2 separate regions of the Homo sapiens genome follow, and region 2 is linked to region 1. Evidence: promoter capture Hi-C in human tissues and cell types (Jung and others, 2019). All regions are on one chromosome and are shown on one strand. Each heading gives the region's core, a stretch centred on a gene start or on the middle of the fragment in contact. The rest is flanking DNA. Distances are from core to core; before and after follow the strand shown. Region 1 holds the start of KLHDC7B (kelch domain containing 7B). Region 2 holds the start of ACR (acrosin).

Evidence for each region. Contacts are between HindIII fragments. The study calls those that stand out against the background at their distance.
Region 2: a contact is called between the fragment with the promoter of ACR here and the fragment with the promoter of KLHDC7B in region 1, in 2 of the 25 tissues and cell types used here (H1 embryonic stem cells and dorsolateral prefrontal cortex).

What each region holds. Positions count from the first base shown.
Region 1 is chr22:50,543,530-50,547,240 of GRCh38, reverse strand. It overlaps KLHDC7B (kelch domain containing 7B), which reads right to left and starts at 1,342. Exons shown (of 1, transcript NM_138433.5): 1 at 1-1,342. The coding sequence starts at 997. KLHDC7B-DT (KLHDC7B divergent transcript) reads left to right here. Exons shown (of 4, transcript NR_199716.1): 2 at 773-867; 3 at 1,846-2,454. RefSeq lists a silencer at 2,727-3,021. The HindIII fragment of the contact is 12,740 bases long and covers 1-1,715 here.
Region 2 is chr22:50,736,718-50,740,174 of GRCh38, reverse strand. It overlaps ACR (acrosin), which reads right to left and starts at 1,971. Exons shown (of 5, transcript NM_001097.3): 1 at 1,863-1,971; 2 at 701-904; 3 at 198-481. The coding sequence starts at 1,939. It overlaps LOC105373100 (a long non-coding RNA gene), which reads left to right and starts at 2,006. Exons shown (of 2, transcript NR_134637.1): 1 at 2,006-2,785; 2 at 3,071-3,457. RefSeq lists an enhancer at 1-474. The HindIII fragment of the contact is 13,172 bases long and covers 1-3,457 here.

The DNA of each region.
Region 1 (3,711 bases), core at 93-2,592:
CCTCCCTGCTGACCCAGGGCCAGCCTCCTCCGGGGGCAGGGACCCCCGAGGCCTCCCTGCTCCAGCCACCCTTGGCCCCAGAGCCTTCCGTCTGAGACCCAGGCTGCAGGGCGCGGGGAGCGGGCAGCGCCGGGAGTGCGGGCTCCTGGGCGAGTGGGGGTCCTGTGGGGAGGCCGCGCGCGTGGGCGTCCAGGGCGGCGGCCCCGTCCACCGCGTCCCACACGCTCCCCGCGGCGCCCAGGCGGAGCGGGTCCAGTTTCCGGGGGCGGCGGGCTCTGTCTCCCGAGCCAGCGTCCATCCGCCGCCGCCGGCCCCGGCCTCTCCCCATCGAGCCCGAGGGCCCCGCGCCCGCCTGCCAGGGGCCAGTGTCCTGTTGCCCCGCGGGGCCTGCGGCCTGGCGAGAGGACGCCCTGACACCACCTGTCTCCGCCTCCGCTTCGCTGCCAGGGCTCCGAGGAGTGAAGTGGATCAGGAGGGGGGCGGACATCCCCCCTGCTTCGCTCCTGCCCAGGAGGGCAGTGCCTGGCCTGGGAGGCTCCTTTCCTTCCGCTCGGGGGGCCGCGGGGGTGGCACTGCCCCGTTGCTGTCCTAATGCCTCTCTGCGGGCCTCCTCGACAGCCGTCTTGAGTGGAAGCCGGGCCATGGCGGCCAGGCCCCCGCCCGGCGCTGCAGCAGGGACAGGGCTCTGCTGGCCGCGTCCTGGGGGCTCTGGTTTCCCCTGCCCTGGGCTCTGCCCCTCGCTGCCATCACTGACCTTAGACTTCGGTTGCAGGGCCAGCTCAGCTCCTCCTGCCTGATGAGGTTGAGCCCCGAGGGCTGTGGACACCGGTTCTGCCGCCTCTTGATCGTGCCCGGAGCCAAACCAGTGTAAGGCCAGCGCTGTGGCAGCCACCACAGCCAGCGCCAGGAGGGCCAGCACAGCACTATCCCAGTCATTGTCACTGTCCCAGTCCCAGCCCCAGAGGGGACCATCTGGCTCCAAGGTGCCCTGGATCATGGTTCAGGGCTGCAATAGAGGCCTGATGGCAGGCTGGCAGTGCATGCAGAGCACAGAGGCCTGGGCTGAGGCACCGGCCAGCGCCTGCCCCAAGGGCTGCCCAGTTAAGGTGGACCAGTCCTCCAGGGCCTGGGAATGGTGGGGTCTCTGCTTGCACTCAGGCCTGGGGGTGTCAGTAGGGCCTGGCTGCAGATATCAGGAGACAGCGAGGCTTATGGCAGGATAGGAGCCCAGGGTCTCTGCAAGCACCCCACCAGCTCCTGCCCTCTTCTCCTCCTCGTAGGCCCCAGGGTCCTCAGGCAGCGTTCCTGAGCTCTGTGCTGTCATCACAGCCAACCTGCTTCTGCCTGGTAGACCCTCACACCCCTAAATTTATTCCACACCCCACAGTCCCTCCTCTCAGCCTGGGCCCAGCTTCAGGGGGCTTGGCAGGGAAGGGTTACCCACAGGGAGATGTTATCTCTAGCTCTAGCAATGTGATGTGGCCCTGATGAAATCACCAGAAACCGGAGAGGCTGATTCCACTGTGGGCCAGCAGGGGAGGGGTGGGGGCCGTGCACGGGAGGGTGCAGGCTGTGCCTGACGGTGGTCTCTCAGGCTGAAGAGGGAGACCCTGGACACGGGTCCTGGCAGTGAGCATTATCATTGCAGGGGTGCTGTGGAGGTTTGTACTGGGGCACAGGGAGGGGGCATAGAGAGGAGACTGAGGCTCCCATAGCTCCTCCTCCAGCAGCTTTTGGACTCCTTACTCTGGGTTTACCAGACATGGGATAGGGTTATCAAGTCAAGAGAAAAAAAAAATTAATGGGATAAATAAAATCCAAACATATTTCTCTCTTTATGGCCAGGCTTATTTCAGCCCACCTAGACCTTCTAGGATCTCCTGGACCCCCTGCGCCCATCGAGAGTGTCTTGACTGCCCAGATGAGACTCTCACTGTGCCCCTGGAGAACCCTGAGCCCAGCCTGCCCCCTACTCCAGTTACCGCATCAGCCAGCACCTGGATCCCTTAGAAACCACCCCCCTCTGGCCCCAGGTGCTCTAATAGCCAGACTCTGGGTGTCTTCATCTCAGTCCTCAGCCTTCCCTTATCTGAGCTGAGGACTCGCCCTCGAGACCACATCCTGGCTGGTACCTCCTAGCCCTGGCTCAGGCCGGCATGTAGGTACTTCTGTTGGATGTGAGCACTTGCTTCCTGAGGGAGAAGCCTGGGCTCCTCCACCTGCTCCTTGCTTAATCCCATCTCAGGAGTGTCTCGGGCCAGGTGCCAGGTGAGGCTCAGACAAGAAAAAGAGCCTGGAGTCCCTGGGACAAAGGCAGGGCTCCCTGGAAAGTACCGTGTGTATTTTTCCTTCCTCTGGGACACAGCAGGCCTGGGGATTTCTCCCTTACTCAAGCAGCAAGGAGATGGCCTAGGAGTGTCCCTGGCACCCAGCCTGAACCCTACTGAGCCTCAGGTAACTCACCTCCCAGCTCCCCCTGGGACTATTAGATGACAGGGAGAGGGTGAGGGTGGGCCCCATGCCTTAAGGTGGACCTCAAGTTGAGGGAAGGCTTTCTAGACCGTGCCCTTATTCTCTGTCCCAGTCTCAGGCTCTGCCTCTTGGTTAAGTTTGGGGTCCAGAAACCTTCAGAGGATGGAGATGACACCCATAAATATTAGAGACTGAGTAGGGGGCGGGAAGCGGTGGCGGCAGCGCACCCCCGGGGTGCAACTGCCCTGGAACTCCAAGTGGTGGCTTCAAAACTGGATTAAAATTTATTTCCGCGAAACCCTGGAGTCACGGTCCGGCGCCGACTGGCGTTTTCTGCCGTAGACTGAGAACGCGTCAGGGATGGCTCCGTTGGCAGCGCGCGCGAGCGCCCCCGGGCCGCGCCTGGAGGGTTGACAGCGACTCGCGGGCGAACTGTGAACCCGCAGCCCCTGGGCTCCGAGCGCAAACCTGGCGACTGGGAGGGCCCGGGGAGCGGGTGAGCCAGCGCCAGCCCCGCCGGCCCCAGGAGCGCGAATTTCTCTACATTTCCGGCTGTGGCCGCAGTTGGAGGATGGGATCAAAACGGGCAAAAAAGTGCGACCTGGGCCGAGGTGTCGGATCGCCTCGAGGTGGGAGGCCGAGGTGTTGGATCGCCTGAGGTCAGCAGTTCGAGACCAGCCTGGCCGACAGGGAGAAACCCTGTCTTTACCGAAAATAGAAAAATTAGCCGGGCGTGGTGGCGGGCGCCTGTAATCCCAGCTACTCCAGAGGCTGAGGCAGGAGAATCGCTTGAACCCGGGGAGTTGCAGTGAGCCGAGATCGCGCCACTGCACTCCAGCCTGGGTGACAGAGCCAGACTCCATCTCAAAAAAAAGAAAAAAAGACACCAGCAAAGGGTTTTTTTCTGTTAATAACTAGGTCCCCCCAACCCCCCAAAAAGGAGGATGGTTAAAAGCAGAAAAGGCAAAAAATAAAGGCTTTTGGCCGGGCGTGGTGGCTCACACCTGTAATCTCAGCACTTTGGGAGGCCGAGGCAGGCAGATCACCTGAGGTCAGGCGTTCAAGACCAGCCTGGCCAACATGGTGAAACCCCTGCTCTACTTTAAAAAAAAAAAAAAATTAGTGGGGCATGGTGCCGGACACCTGTAATACTAGCCACTCAGAAGGCTGAGGCAGGAGAATCGCTTGAACCCGGGAGGCGGAGGTTTCAGTGAGCCGAGATCGCACCGCCACACTCCA
Region 2 (3,457 bases), core at 722-3,221, 190 kb before region 1:
CGTAGACAGCCAGACGAGTCACCCATCACGTGACCTGGCACAGGGGACTGTGGAAGGCCACAGTGATGGCTCTACGTGTAGCGCCGTGAGGAGGATGAAAGCAGCCTGGCTGGGTGTCAACAAGTGACCGCTGCACCTCAAAGACCACCAGGAGAATGGCCAGCAGCGTCCCCCCTTGGAGGCGCTCCCATACTCACCTTTCTCTTCTATATATCCCCAGCCGGCCACCCAGCAGCTCTGGGAGCCTCTGGGGAGGCCTGCCTTAAAGTGGGGCAGGCAGCCCGGCCCAATGAAGCGCCCACACGAAATGGGAGGGGTGATCTCCACGAGGGCAATGTCATTTCCCTCTGTCGCAGAGTTGTATTTTTCATGAATGATGATTTTCTCCACATATCTCTCTTGCAGAGGCGCCTTTACTGGTTTATTGTTCCCATATGTAATTTCCTTTGCTCCGAAAACCAGTCTCCAGTCATGCACATTACTGTGGGCACAAAGGTAAGCCAGGTCACAACCGGCTGGACAAAAGCCTGGTGACAGCGACCCTCAGGGCCTTCCCCTAGCAAAGGTCTGGACCAGCCCCCGGAGTCTTGCAGCCACTTGGCCCAGAGCCCCAGGGAGACGCTGCACAGCATCCCCGGGGAACGCCCCTCTCTGAGAAGAGCCGTTCTGAAGACCTCCCTCAGTGCATCCCTACACGTACTTTTTGCCGACGAAGCAGTGAGCAGCAGTGAGCACCCATCGTGAATTCAGCAAGCTGCCTCCACATGTGTGGTACCTGTGGCTGTTGTACGTGAAGATCTGGAGGCTGACCATCCAGGGCCAGGCCCCATGCTGTGCAGCCTTCCCGCCGACGATGCGGACACCACCCTGTGGGTTTTGCCTGAACCGTAACCCACAGGGGCCACTGGGGAGAGACCAGAGCACAGTTCAAACCTGGCATGAGCACAGCCTGTCCTTGTAACTCCACAACTGAGGGGAGGCAGGGACATGGGGTTGGGAAAAGTGGGGAAGAGCTTCCGGGTTCTGGGAAAGCAGGGGCAGCCTGCGCTATGTAGGAAGCCGCAGGCTCTAGGAAATGGTTCTGGGGCCACGACTTCTCAGGTCTTGTGGGTGCAGTCACAGATGGAGAAAGAGGAGGCCATAGGAAGCCAGGACAGGCTGCATGGGCCCTGAGGGATGGCCCGTCCCTGGGCAGAACAGGAGGGTAGAGGTGGGGATGCGGGGCCTGGGGACAGAGGGGTGTAATGGCCTGAGGTCCTTATAACCAATCTTGGGTGGGAGACTCAGGGAAGTCAGGTGATGAAGGGGGTCGTTGACAGTGATGGGAGGAGGGATAGCAGCCAGGGGCAGATACTGTGGCCCACAGGTGTAGGGGGCACACTGAGAGCAGTGGAGGTCTAGAGGTGGAGGCTCTGGGAACTGTGTCACGGGTGGGAGGCCACATATAGCTTGGGAGGTGTTGGTATTTCGGGGTACCTTGGAGTGAGAGAGCCTACTGGGGGGTAGGGGTGCAAGCGGTGTGAAGCGATGATATCCTGGGGCTGTTGGGGGCAACCACGGGTTGGGACAGCTGTCTGTGGGGGGATAAGGGCTCCCAAAATCAGGACTTCATGTCTTCAAGACAGTGGGGTCAGTCCCTGGGGGAGTGGGAGAGGCACAAGGAGCCTGAGGTGCTGAGGGGTCCATCTCTGGAGGAAACCACGAAAGCTGAGGGTCTGGGGGCTCCAGGCTGCTGATTCTGGGAGCAGGGGGGGTCCAGGTTAGGGATGCAGCCTCCTTTTCCCTAGCCCTGGACAGAGGGAGTCGGGGTGGTACCTGCTCCTCAGAAGATCCTTCCCCCACCAAGGTGCCCCGACACTTACTCACACGTGGCGTTATCTTTAGCAACCACGGACACTGCCAAGACCAGCAGAATGGCAGTTGGTAGCATCTCAACCATACTCCTGGCACTGCCTGGCCTGCAAGCCTAGTGACCTCACAAAGCTCCGTGGCTGCCTGGCCAATCAGCAGGGGTGACCCCCACCCCACCCCCAGCAGTCAGGCCAGGTAAGAGCCCCTCGCCTTAACTGGTTTGTGCTGAAGAGACTTCTTGACTTCCTGCATAGGCTCCCCCACCACCAGGATGATGGGGGACTCCTGTGCAGCCCCACTCCCTCTGTCCCAAGGCCAGGATCTCCATTCCCAGTAACTCTTGCGAGGTCCCCACATCACCCAAGGCTCTGGCTTTGTGCAGGTTCAGAGTCTGCCTCTCATGCGTGCTGTGACCACTGCAGACTCACAGACTGAGGAGCGGCTCAGCCCTTCAGTGATGAGACGGTGCAACATGTTTGTGGATCAGAGGAGTCAGGGTCAGCAGATTAATTGATCCTTAATTGTTGTTGGGGAAGTTTTCTTTTCCTCTTCCAAGTGAATGCTATCAACACACTTTTCCAAGAGTCATTTTGAATTTTCCTAATTTACAACTGCAAAGCCCACCTTCCTGTCCGTTGCTGAATATCACAAGGTCTCCTATTATCCTGAATGTCTCCAGATCGGCTTTCTGTGACTGAGGTGGAGCAAGGTGTTTTCTCCTATACTTGAATGTCAAGAGTTTTCATACAGCTACCTGAATATCATGAAGCATCATTTTTCCCATCTGATCATCAGGAACTAGCATCTCACCTACCAGAGTGTGACAAATGCTTATTGCAAACACCTGAATGTTAAAACATTTCCCATCGCCTGCAAGTGTCAGGAGGTCACACTCTTACCTGCATGAGGGCAGCCTTACCTCTTCTACCTGAATGTAAGATCTCAACCAGCCCGAGGGTCAATAGGTTGCACATCATCTAAGTGGGTGTCAGAAGGTCCCATGCCTCCAACCTGAGTGTCAGGACATCTCATCTCCTATTCCTGAGTGTTGAGTTTTCAGATTATCAGATGATCTTGATTTATCTATTTTCTCTAACTGAATGTCGTACTTATGACATCCTCAAATGAATGTTCAATAGGTCTCGTATATCTTACCCAGTATCAGGGAGTGATCACCTCCTTCTTTGAAAGAAATAACAACTCTGTTTTTCCACTTCAGTGCCAGAGGCCCTCATCGCCTCCACCTACAGGTTAAGAATTCTCACCTCCACCACCCAAGTGTCACCCTGTCGCACTTTCTCTACCTGAAAATCAAGAGGTCTTACATCTTCCAGCTGAATGTCAAGAGGTTGTATTTTACCTATATGAATGTTCTGAAGTCTCCACCGGTATACCAGAGTGTTGGGAGATCTCATTGCCCCCATCTGGGTGCCAGGGCATGTCCTACCCTCTACTTGAATATAGTCTCATATCCCTGTCTAAATGGCATGGAGCTTTCATCTCCTCTGCTAGAGTATCATGAGATCTCCTCTATTCTGGGTGTCCAAAGTTCTCATCTCAACCCCCTGAGGTCTGGAGGTATTCTCACCTCTTCCTGGTTGTCTGG